Regions from separate parts of the Homo sapiens genome. Here region 2 is linked to region 1. Evidence: promoter capture Hi-C in human tissues and cell types (Jung and others, 2019). All regions are on one chromosome and are shown on one strand. Each heading gives the region's core, a stretch centred on a gene start or on the middle of the fragment in contact. The rest is flanking DNA. Distances are from core to core; before and after follow the strand shown. Region 1 overlaps SAMD4B (sterile alpha motif domain containing 4B). Region 2 holds the start of RINL (Ras and Rab interactor like).

Region 1 (6,286 bases), core at 47-2,546:
CCAACATTCTCCAGACTCGTTGCCCAAGAGCCTCTATGTTTCCTTGTAAAGATTCTTGAGAGACACCTTTCCCCGCCCCCTTGAAATCCCAGTGCTCCGAGATCTTTCTTTCAGACCATTTTTCTTAGGTGCCATGCTCATAGACCCCTCTTCCCTTCAGAGATCAAGAGACCCTTAACACCCTCCTTAGAGACTTAGGATTCTCCCCATTTCCCTTTCAGAAGCCTTCTTCCTTCTCCCCTTTGAGGACCTCCTCACCAAATAATCCCTTCCCCTATAGCAGTGGTTCTCAGTGTGGTTCCTGGCCCAGCAGCAGCCACATTTGTTAGAAATACACATTCTTGAATCCCACTCAGATCTACTGAAACTGAAAACCTGGGAGCAGGGCCCAGCAATCAAGAGTTTTTAACAAACCCTCCTGGTCATTTTGATGCACACGCAAGTTTGAGAACCTGTGCCCTTTAGGAGGATTTCCTTTTCCTCACTAAAAGCCCCCTGAAAGATGCCTCAGGGTATGCCTCTGTGCCCTACTGCCCACTGCTGCTTTCCTGTTTCCTAGGAATCCCCTTTATGAAGTACCCATCCTCCAGAAAGATTTCTTACCTACCTTGAAAGGATCTTGGCTTCTCCACAAGGTTACTCCATCCTCTGAGCAGTTATTTCCGATTCTACTTTTGAATGGTTTCTTTTCAGATCTTCCTCAGTGCTTTCTCTTTCTGGCTACCCCTCCAGCCCACTACCAGCCTTTGGTGCTTCTTTAAATTGCTGCTTCTTTGAACACACATATCCATCTCTTCTTGTCCATCTGTTTCTTCACATAGGCACCCTCCCCTTGAGGCACCCTCAGGAGGTCTTTTCATTCTGTGTCTTACTGCCAAGACCCCTCCACCTCCATTGTACCTCTTAGAACACCACTCACCTTCAACCTTGTAGATTTTAATGTACTTGTCCACTCACCCTCACTGGACTAGGAACTCTGAAAGTACGGGATGTGTCTTGTTCTTCTCTGAATCCCACAAGGTGGGATCTACTCTTTGTAAGTTATTGGAAATCACTGGAGAATAAGCAGCTCTTCCTTCTGCATTTGGCCAGAAATCTCCAAGTTCCTCAGATCTCACTCCTCATTCAGGTTTAGTACACCTTCCCTGCCCCCTCCTCTCCTCTCACCTCCCTTTTTTTTCTCCACACAGCACCCTTTGCCTTTACTCCTGCCCTACTTGCTCCTGTCTTAGGGACTTTCTTTGTGCTGTTTCCTGATTCTGAGCTACCCCAAGTCCTTTGCCTGGTGACCTGCCTCACCCGTCCTGGTTGGCTTCTCTTAGCAGCCCCTCTCAGCTGCTAAGTCTGGAGCCTCCACAGAGCTCTTGGCATTTTTTCAAGGGATTCTGTTTCTAGGGCCCAGAAGGGGAAACAGAGACCCCAGGGTAAATATTGGGGCCTGCCTTCAGGGAGCTCACAATACCAGTAGGGGGCTTGGGCATGTACAGAGCAGAAAATGAGGTACAAATTATATGCTGTAGAAATTCAGCAGTGAGAGGGAGCCTTTTATTTGGAAAGACTTCACAGAAAAGGTGGTATTTGGGCTGGATAGTGTTCCATGGGAGTTGGGACAATGATGGTGCCCCCAGGCAGAGGAAACAGCTTAAGCAATGGGTCAAAGACAAAGCCTCCTCATCTCTCACCCATGGTATCTCTTCTCTTCACCCAAAAGATAGAGATGAAAGAAGACAGATTTCCTCCATTTGCATTGTATTTGCCAGCTGCACTTTAGTGACCTACAGAGTAATAATAATAATGACCACTGGTTTTTGAATGCTTTCTAACTGCCAGGCACTGTTTAAGTGCTTTACATGTATTCATAGGAGGTAGGAGTTTACCTACCCTATGAGGTAAGTAAACTACCATTATCCTCATTTTGCATATGATGAGATTAAGAACAGGTAGGACTAATAGAGGGTCTGTGGGCACTGTCCATTCCAAGATGGTAGTGCCTTGGGTCAAAAAGTTTGATTTTTAGTTAAGATAGGTTTGGCTGCAATGGGGCAGTAGTTGTTAGGTATGCAGACCCTGGGTCTGGACAGGATTTGTATCCCACATTACCACTCACCAGTTTTGTACCCTAGGACGAGTTACTTCCCTGGTCTTTTAGTTTCCACAGCTAAAAATATGAAGGAAATAATGATACTTTACTTCATAGAATTGTTACGAGGATTAAATAAGTTAATACATGTAAAGTACTTAGAACAATGTCTTGCCCATAATTGCAATGTTAGAAAAACAATAAAATAAAAAAAAAGCTCATATCAGCCAGAACTCTAAAAACATAAAGTGATAGAACCTTAGCTCAAAGTGGTTTAATGAAAAAAGTGGGGGATTAATTGGCTTTTGTTACTGGAAAGTCCAGAGCTAGGTTGGCTTCAGACCTAGCTGCATCCAGGTGTTCAAATAATTTTCTCAGTCATCTCCTCCCATTTCTCCACTGAGTTAGCTTCATCCTCAACAAGCTTCTGCTTTGGATGACAAATATGGTCCTCAGCAGCCCCAGGTTTTAACCCTACCTCCTTGGAAAGCCTTAGTGGAAAGAGAACTCTTTCTTGAGAGTCCCAGTTTGAAAATAGTTTCTTCCTTGAATAGATGTGAGATTATGCCAGAAGATCCTTAGAAACATATTTTGGGTTCTGTACCCTGCAACTCAGTCTCTGGCTTGCTGAGCCAAATAGGCCTGTGATTCCATCCGATGAACTTTCTGAGCAGTGATGGCAATCTCCCTCCCCACTGTCCCCCAGCCGCAGTCATTCTCTGCTCTGTGATTGTTTGGGTCTAGAGAGAGCTTGTGGCTGGTCTGACTCAACCACACTTTGCTTTGGGATATCACGGGTGATATGAGGTGATCAGCCTGGCTTGATGGTGGCCTCAGGGGAGCAGAATCCAGGAGTAATGGCAATACCCTCACCACAGTTTAAGGTTTCCAAGACACAGAACTTTGGAAGAGAGTTAAGTAGGATTGCTGTGAGTGGAGTTTTGTTTTGTTTGTTTTAGTGTAAACTTGTTGAATAGAAGCGGGTTCAGGGCAAGTTACAGAACAGCAGTGTATGGAGTATGCAAGTCTCAAATATCTCCAGCCTGCACTCATTCATTAATGCATGGAGGCACTATTCTAGGTACTGGAGACAGAGCAGTGAATAAAACATTCAAGGTCCTGAAATTCATGGAATTTATATTCTGATGGGGGGAGGAAACAAAAAAATCAGAGTGTGATTCATGCTGTGAAGGAAATAAAACAGTGTGAAAGAGAGGGTGGGAGTGGCCACTGTAGTAGACAGGGGGATCAGAAGAGGCCTCTTTTGGGAGGTGACAGTTGAGCCTGATAACCAGAAAGATGAGAAGGCACCAGTTGTGGGAAGATCTGGGAGTGGAACATTCTAATCTAAGCATTGTTACATGCAGAAAAAGGACCTCTGCAAGGTGGGGAAATTTATCACAGATATTTATTGAGGGCCTGCTATGTACCAGGTGCTATGCTAGGAATTGGAGATGTAGCAATGAATAATATAGCTACAGTCTTCCCTTCTCTCATGGATCTTACAGTCTAGGTGTTTTTGGAAGAGCTGCAGCCTTTGAAGAAACATCTCTTGATGATGATATCATAGACTCCTTCCTACTGGGCAGATGAGGCAGAATGGGGCACAGGTGAGCCCAGATCTGATTGATGAGAAGGAACCAACCTTGTGACGGTCCGGGGAAGAGCATTTCAGGCAGAGAGGTCAGCAGGTGCAAAAGCCCTGCCATATGTTCAGGGAATCGCAAGGACCAGTGTGGCTAAAGCCTAAGTGAGGGAGAGGGGTGAGGGTTGGAAAGGCTGACAGAAGCCAGATTACTTGCAGCCTAAGGGCCACAGTAAGGAGTTTCTATTTTCATTTAAGGGGATTGGGAAACTATTAGAAGGGAGTTTTTAAAAGCAAGACAGCGACATGATCTGATTAATTTTTTTAGAAAGCTCACTTTGGTTTCTGGGAGGAAAACAGAGGGTCAGGACAGAATCAGGAAGGAAAGTTAGGAGACAATCCATTTGTCCAGATGAGAAATGGTGACATGAATGTGGTGGTGGTGGTGGTAGTGAAGATGTAGAGAAGCAGATATATTTTGGGTGTACAGAAAACAGGACTTGATGATGGGATTAGAGAAAGAGAGGAATCTAGAATAATGATAATAGCCAAGTCATTTATGCCTCACAACTCTATGAGAGTAGGCACTATTATTATTTTCTGTCTTCCTTCTCAGTAGGTACTATTATTACACCCACATTACAGATGACAAAACAGGCATGGCAAGGTGAAATCACTTGCCCAAAATTACACAGGTAGTAAGTGGCAGGCTTATATTTCCAACCCGGCAGTCTGGTTCTAGAGCCACTTAGGTTTGGGGAAAGATAAGCAAGGCATGTGTAGCTGACATTAAGAAAAAAGAAATATCAAGACCTAATGACTGGGTCTTTGGGAAATGGAAGAAGTCAAAGATGACTCAAAAAAATGTCTCAGTTGTCCACAGAGAGGTGATGATTGAATCTACAGGAGTTAATTACATGCCTAAGTGAGAGAAAACAAGTGTAAAGAAGGGAAAGGAAGCAGAGAATAAACTTTTCGGGGGGAAGGGGTGTCAAGACATTTAGGAGTGGGAGGAAGAATGCTAGCTTCCTCTCTATTCCAGAGTTTACCGGAGCTCCCCATACTGTACTTATCTTCCAGGAGGCCCTGCCTGGCTTCTCCTCTCCTCTCCCTCCCTTCCCCAGCACCATTCATACAAAAAGCTCATTCTTTGCTAATGCAGTGGTGTACATGTTTTGTGTACGTATTTCAGGAGTTTCTGGAAATAATGGTTGATTCTTATAAGAGAAGTTGTGCTCCCTTGGCTTCTGACAGTCTCTTCTCAGGTTATGAAAGTGAGTTAACCCTAGGTAACTAGCCTGTTACCTTGTTCATGAAGTGTAAGTTCTCAAAGGCCTAGGTCGTGCTGTAAAAAGAACTAGGAATGGGTAAGAAGGCAGATAGGATCCCCTTATTCATCCAGAGATGTTGGTATTAAAGGGCCCTTAGGCCCAACTTTCACCTTGTTGCCCAGGCTGGTCTCAAACTCCTGGGCTCAAGCGATCTGCCCACCTCAGTCTCCCGAAGTGCTGGGATTACAGATGTGAGCCACCATGCCCAGCTTTCTTGCATTGTTAAGAGCAAGCAAGAGCTCTGAAGCCAGACTGCCTGGCCTTGAAAATCTCAGCTTGGTGTACAGTCTTGGGCAAAGTGACTTAACTTCTCTGTGCCTCAGTTGCTCCATCTGTAAAATGATAATATATTCATATATGTATGTTATATATTTTTGAAATAGAGTTTTGGGGATCAAATGTGCTTATCTGTGGAAAGCTGTTGGCAAAGGGCCTGACAATGTATGATGTATGAAGACATGCTAAGCATCATGCTTGCTATTGAAATGAAGTATAGAGGAGGAAAAAAGCATCATGCGCGGTATTTTTAAATACATTGTTTCATTTAATTCTTCTAACAAGCTTCATTGAGGAAGAAACAGAGTTACTTGTCATAGTCAATACAGCAAGTAAGTATAACAGGAGAGCCAGGATTTAAGCCAGGTCTGACTAACTCCACCATCCTGCTTCTGAATGAAGAGAGCTGGACTCCAGAGGCACTGTTTATGGGCATATGGGCCTTTTCTCACTGTTTGGGGCCAGAGAAGAAGCCCAGAGGGCAGTTTGTCCTGGAACATCTCAGCATTTTTTTGTTTTTGTTTTTGTTTTTGTTTTGAGACAAAGTCTCCAGTCCCCCAGGCTGGAGTGCAGTGGCGCAATCTCAGCTCACTGCAACCTCCACCTCCCAGGTTGAAGCGATTCTGCTGCCTCAGCCTCCTGAGTAGCTGGGATTACAGGCGCCTGCCACCACGCCCAGCTGATTTTTTGTATTTTTAGTAGAGACAGGGTTTCACCGTGTTGGCCAGGCTGGTCTCGAACTCCTGACCTCAGGTGATCCGCCCGTCTCGGCCCCCCAAAGTGCTGGGATTACAGGCGTGAGCCACCGTGCCCAGCCTTTCTCCAGGTGGGAGTGCAGTGGCATGATCTCAGCTCACTGAAGCCTCGACCTCCAGAACTCAAGTGATCCTCCCAAAGTAGCTGGGACTGCAGGTGCACACCACCACGCCCAGCTAATTTTTGGATTTTTTGTAGAAACGGTTTTGCCATGTTGCCCAGGCTGCTGATCTGGAACCTTTGGCTTTTGTTTTGTTT
Region 2 (6,218 bases), core at 3,179-5,678, 470 kb before region 1:
AATTGACTGTGGGCTGGAACCTCAGGGGAGGTGCCTTACCTCTGGGAATCTTCTGGATCTGGTAGGTATTGACTTCTCCTGGTAAAGGTCCTGACCTCAACACCAGGGCCTGGCTGGGGTCACGTCCTGTGACCAAGAAACTCTGGGGGATAGAGACAAAGGCCAGCGTGACAAAGGTGTGCGCAGATGTCTGTTGCTTTTGCCTGACTAGCATCCATTTCCCTTATTTTGGGTTCCACACCCCAAATTTCCTTTAGGGAAACCCTCTCCCTACTTTCAGTCCATGTGTGTTGGGCTGACTTCCCCCAAGCCCTGGCGGGGTGGGCCCATGACCTGATCTAGCCAACAGGATGAGGGTGCTCTCGGCCCACTGTTTGGTTCAGGGAACAGGCATGTGACTCAAGCTCAGCCAATGGACATCTTCCACAGGATTTTTTTTTTTTTGAGACGGAGTCTTGCCCTGTCGCCCAGGCTGGAGTGCAGTGGCACAATCTCTGCCCACTGCAACCTCCGCCTCCCGGGGTCAAGCGATTCTCCTGCCTCAGCCTCCCAAGTAGCTGGGATTACGGGCGACTGCCACCACGCCCGGCTAAGTTTTTGTATTTTTAGCAGAGACAGAGTTTCACCACATTGGCCAGGCTAGTCTTGAACTCCTGACTTCAAGTGATCCGCTCTTCTCAGCCTCTCATAGTGCTGGGATAATAGGCGTGAGCCACTGCGTGCTGGAGCTCTTTTGGAAAGACTTCATTTGTTACACTGGTGTTGCTAAACTGGTGGGATACAGCTCTGAGCTGGGAAGGATGATACCCTCCTGAGGAGGAAGCTGTGGTAGCCCCCGTTTGCTGTCGTCTCCAAACCTATTCCACATTCCTTGCAGAATTCCTTGTTCACGGCATTAATATACCCAGCCATGAGTATGATTGATATATGGATCATGATTGATATAGGTGGTGGTTCTTAGCTCTGGCTGTATACGTCCCAAGAGAGCTGTTAAAAATATTGCTACAGCCGGGCACGGTGGCTCACGCCTGTAATCCCAGCACTTTGGGAGGCCGAGGCGGGTGGATCACCTGAGGGCAGGAGTTCGAGACCACCCTGGCCAACGTGGTGAATCCCAGTCTCTACTAAAAATACAAAAATTAGCCGGGTGTAATGGCGGGCGCCTGTAATCCCAGCTACTCGGGAGGCTGAGGCAGGAGAATCGCTTGAACCCGGGAGGCAGAGGTTGCAGTGAGCCAATATCGTGCCACTGCACTCCAGCTTGGGTGACAGAGGGAGACTCCATCTCAAAAAATAATAATAAAAATAATAAATAAAAAAATTAAAAATATTGCTACCTGGGCCCCATCCTTTTTTTTTTCTTTTTTCTTTTTTTTTTTTTTTTAATAGAGACTGGGCCTTGCTCTGTTGCCCAGGCTGGTCTTGAACTCCTAGGCTTAAGCGAGCCTCCTACCTCAGCCTCCCAAAATGCTGGGATTACAGGCGTGAGTCAGCACACCCGGCCAGCCATCTATATTTTCTGAATCAGTTGTGAAAACCTTTATTTTGGCCGGGGACGGTGGTTCACACCTGTAATCCCAGCACTTTGGGAGGCAGAGGTGGGTGGATCACCTGACGTCAGGAGTTTGAGACCAGCTTGGCCAACATGGTGAAATCCCATCTCTACTAAAAATACAAAAAATTAGCCGGGCGTTGTGGCAGATGCCTGTAATCCCAGCTACTCAGGAGGCTGAGGCAGGAGAATCGCTTGAACCTGGGAGGCGGAAGTTGCAGTGTGCCGAGATCATGCCATTGCACTCCAGCCTGGGCAACAAGAGTGAAACTCTCAAAATTAAAAAAAAAAAGAAAAGAAAACCTTTATTTTTCCTGTAAAATAAACAGATGCAAGTGGTGCCTCTGTTCTTCCTGCCTGGAATGCACGCAGGTGCTTGGGCCTGGGGCAGCCCCCGGGAAGCTGTGAGAGAAGTCCAAGAGAATTATAGCTATGCTGGCCTCAATGTCACTGCACTGCTGATCTAAAGCCAGCAGCTGCCTTTTTGGTTATGTTAGGAAGATAAATGCCTATTTGTTTAAACCGCTGTAGGACAGGTGTTTGTTATATTCAGTCCCAAATATCCAAAATTCCCCGCAGTTGAAAGCAAAGCCAAGAAATGGGATGAAGAGGAATTTATAAGTGTTCTGAAGTTCAGGATCCAGAGCTTCTTGAAATTACATTTTTTTTTTTTTTTTTTTAGACAGGGTCTTGCTCCATCACCCAGGCTCAAGTGAAGTGGCATGATCTCAGCTCACTGCCGCCTTGACCTCCTGAGCTCAAATGATCCTCCCACCTCAGCCTCATGAGTAGCTAGGACTGCAGGCATGAGCCATTGCACCCAGCAATAAATAGCCTTTTTGGTTTGCCCAATTTGTGTCATGTTTGTCACTAGTAACCAGCAGAGTCCTAATCTAGGGTGTCAGGATGGGCCCCCAGCTGTGAGTACTCACCCCTAGTGGCCACAGCCCCACAAGGGCCTCCGCATCCTGGGTATCCAGCTCTGGCACATGCCACACCCCCCATGTCCTCTGCAGGCGAGTAAGTGGCTCTAGGGTGCTGAGGACCCCTAGAGGGGTCCTGTCTGCTTTGTTCACCTGTGGTGGGACCAGCCTGGGATGGACAGTGTCCAGGGAGTCAGGGGTCAGAGGTGGGCAGTGGGACAATGAGGTGAGGTCAAAGGTACAGGAAGGGGCAGGCCCAGGGCAGAGGCTCAGAGATGTGATTCAGGATTCTGTAGTGAGGGAGGTATTGGATGGAAAGGGTTTCTGGATGCAGGGGAAGGAGGGCATAGCCTCAGCCCTAGTAGCCTCACCTCACCCCCTCTGTGGGGACTTCAGGTGCCTTGTCTTCTGGCTGGGCCATCGTCAGGTTGCAGGAAGCCAGTGAGTCATGACCTGGCCTCTGGCAGGGAGAAAGGTAAGACTCAAAGCTGCTCTAGCCCTCGGGTCATGTTCAAGATATTTACAATCAATATGGCAGAGACCCTGACCAATCAGAATGGACCCCAGAGGCCGCTTGCCGTGGCAGGGGTTAATTCTTTATTTTATTTTTGAGACGGAGTCTCACTGTATTGCCCAGACTGCAGTGCAGTGGCACGATCTCAGCTCACTGCAACCTCCGCCTCGTAGGTTCAAGCGATTCTTGTGCCTCAGTCTCCCGAGTAGTTGGGATTACAGGCGTGCACCACCACGCCTGGGTAATTTTTGTATTTTTTAGTAGAGACAAGGTTTTGACGTGTTACCCAGGCTGGTCTCAAACTCCTGACCTCAAGTGATCCCCCCGCCTCGGCCTCCCAAAGTGCTGAGATTACAGGCATGAGCCACCACACCCGGCCGGCAGGGGTTAAATCTTTAGTACCGGATGGTGGGGAATCTGGGGATCCCAGGAGAGAGGCCAGTGTGTCTTGCGGTGTGGGGAGAGGACTCAAAACAATAGCTCTTTACTGAAGTGGTAGGAAATATGTTAAGATTTTTAACAGCCATGGGGGCTGTGTAAATGTGGGCCAGCCCTTGGCAAAACCCAGTCAGCGCCTGGAAAAGTTCTTGGCCCAGAGTAGGCAGTCCCTATATCTGGAAAGGTAATAACATCCCCTCTTCCTCCCTTCCCACACCATGGAGGGGCCACTGAATCTCTTCCCCCAGCATTTTATTATGAAAAATTTCAGACATAGAGAAAAGCTGAAAGAATTGTACAGGAAACATCCCTATGCCCACTACCAAGATTCTACCATGAACATTTTACTCATCTTGCTTTATCACACATCTGTTCCTCTCTCTCTTCATCCACCCATCAGGCCCCAGCTCCTAACCAGGTACAGAGTCCTACGTAGGTTATCACTTAGGGTGGCACTTATCCCAGCAGCAGTCCCAGGAGCAGGAGACCTGGATCGGGGGAGGATCCATCCTCCCTCCCTCCCTCCCTCCCTTCCTTCCTTCCTTCCATCCATCCAGTATTTACTGAATACAGGCTGGAATTAGGTGCCTCTGCCCTGGAGAGAGGGTGATGAACAGGACAGGCTCCTCCCCTCAGGGCCTTCCATTCTTGTTTGGGGCAGGTGTAGCATATGGATAATAGGCAGCTAAACAAATACATTAGGCCATTGACCAGAAGGCCAGGGTGTTATTAGGAAGGAGGGAGGTGGGCAGGGAGGCGCAGGTGCCCTGCCCAGGCAAGAGCAGGAAGGAAGGGAGGGGAGGGGAGGGGAGAGGGAAGCAGATGCCTGCTTGTGTACCGTGGCAGGAGAGGAGGCTGTGGGCAGTGCGTGGCAGGGGTGGGTCAGGGCAGCTGCCTCATACCAAAGGGAGGCAGCAGGGGCTGAAGATGCCAGATGCTCGGTTCCTGGGGGCCCTACCTGTTCTCGGAGGAGAGGCCTGCAGTAGCAGGAAGTGGAGAGAGGAAGCTGAGCAGGCAGGGGGAAGAGGCGGGGCTGGGGTATCTGAAGTCAACTTTCCTCCCTCTTTCTGGGGCCTCAGGCCTTTAGTGACGGGGCTTAGAGGAAGGGACACTGGCAGGCTGGGAGTCCAGGGGTCAGAGCCACGAGGGCCCCCGTGAGGACCCTCTTGTTACCCCTCACTCTGGATCCCGGAGACTTTCTGGTTCCTTAGTGGCCCAAGATCTAACCCCCTCCCTTCAGAGATTTCCCTGGGTGCCCACAGAAAGAAACAGGAGGCCAGACCGGATTGTTAGTTGTTTTTGTTTTTAATTTGTCTCCAATAAGCAATGTCTTCTGCCCATCCAGCATGGGAAGTGGGTCCCACGTGAAGGGGGCCCACCACCCACTTTGGGAGCTGAAGGCAGAGACTCGGGAGCCCTCCCGGCTCAGACTCCCCCTACGCTGGGTGTGGGTTATATTCAGAGGCCCACACCCACACTGGGGTAGGTTAGGTATGGTTTACTTAGCCACAGGCCCCCGGGGGCAGGAGACAGAGTGGGGGCCCGAAGCTCCCTGTCCTGGAAGAGTTAAAAGTTCTGGGGTAGCCCTGGCCCCGTGGGGGCAGTTAGAGATGAGGGAGGTTACTCCTTAGCCCAGGAGTGGTTAGAGACAGTGGGGCTGGTAGAGATGCCTGTTTAAGCCTTGGCCTCTAGGAGGTGTTAGAGATTTGCTGGGGTTGGGGGCCAGGGTTGCTGGGACCCCAGTTTTGGGGAGGGAGCTGTAAGAGATTGGGGGATGTTCTGAGCTCCCCAGACAAGAACTGCTGGTTAAGAGGGGGCCAGGCCCGGTTGGGGCTCAGCTGTCCCTGAGGAGCTCGGCATCCCGCCTGGGAGATGCAGCTGTCACTGGGGTTTCTCCCTCTCTGTTGTCCTGGCCTCGTCCTTGGCAGGTGGCGGGGACTTCTTGGGGGAAGCTGAAGTGCTGGGGTTGGGGACCCCCGCCCCCGACTGGGCATCTATGCTGGCGTGCTCCCTCCGGACAAGGTCCTCCAGCTCCTTCTGCAGGAGCAAAGGTCACAGAAGTCAAAGGTCACTGTGCATCATGGGGTCAGAGGACCCATGGGGTGGGGAGAGGGTCCAGGGATGGGGCTCAGGACAGGCTGGGGTTGCTCAGCTCCTCACCTTCCATCCAAGGAGCTCAGCAAGGGCCAGGCAGCCCTGGTCGCATTCACCCAGCCAGGCCACGTCCCTGCGGTGCAGCAGGAGATCAGAGTTCCCAGGCGGGCTCGCCCCTGCCTGCTCCTCTCATCTGCCTTCGTGCCCCCGCTCCCACCTCACCCTGTCCCTTCCAGGCTGCCCCAACCCCCGGCGGGGCCTCACCTGTAGGCCTTCTTGGAGTCAAAGTCCATGCCTCCTCCGAGGCCCATAATCATCCCCAGGAAAGGGTCCGACTGTCAGGGAGGGGGTGGGTCAGGGGCAGGAGCAGGGAAGGGAGAGCTAAGAGCACAGACCCTGGAGCCAGGTGGCCTGGGTTTGTATCCTAGCTCTGTGACTTTGTTTTTTTTTTGTTGTTGTTTTTTTGGTTTTTTTTGAGACAAAGTTTCACTCTTGTTGCCCAGGCTGGAGTGCAATGATGTGATCTCGGCTCACTGCAACCTCCACCTCCTGGGTTCAAGTGATTCTCCCGCCTCAACCTCCCGAGTAGCCTGGATGACAGGTGCCCAGCACCATGCCCGGCTAATTTTGTATTATTAGTAGAGACGGGGTTTCACCATGTTGGTCAGGCTGGTCTCGAACTCCTGACCTCAGGTGA

Evidence for each region. The method cuts DNA at HindIII sites, captures the fragments that hold promoters and counts their contacts. A contact is called where the count stands out against the background at its distance.
Region 2: a contact is called between the fragment with the promoter of RINL here and a fragment that was not itself captured in region 1, in 1 of the 25 tissues and cell types used here (dorsolateral prefrontal cortex).

What each region holds. Positions count from the first base shown.
Region 1 is chr19:39,344,700-39,350,985 of GRCh38, forward strand. The region is part of intron 1 of SAMD4B (sterile alpha motif domain containing 4B); the gene reads left to right. Among named protein-coding and RNA genes, the nearest start is that of SAMD4B, 5.4 kb to the left of the region's middle. The HindIII fragment of the contact is 5,468 bases long and covers 1-4,030 here.
Region 2 is chr19:38,873,847-38,880,064 of GRCh38, forward strand. RINL (Ras and Rab interactor like) reads right to left here and starts at 4,429. Exons shown (of 12, transcript NM_001195833.2): 1 at 4,386-4,429; 2 at 2,847-2,935; 3 at 2,485-2,644; 4 at 40-142. The coding sequence starts at 2,896. SIRT2 (sirtuin 2) reads right to left here. Exons shown (of 16, transcript NM_012237.4): 14 at 5,786-5,856; 15 at 5,588-5,654; 16 at 4,714-5,464. The coding sequence ends at 5,309. RefSeq lists a silencer at 4,216-4,265 and enhancers at 4,806-4,925, 4,966-5,065. The HindIII fragment of the contact is 14,230 bases long and covers 1,222-6,218 here.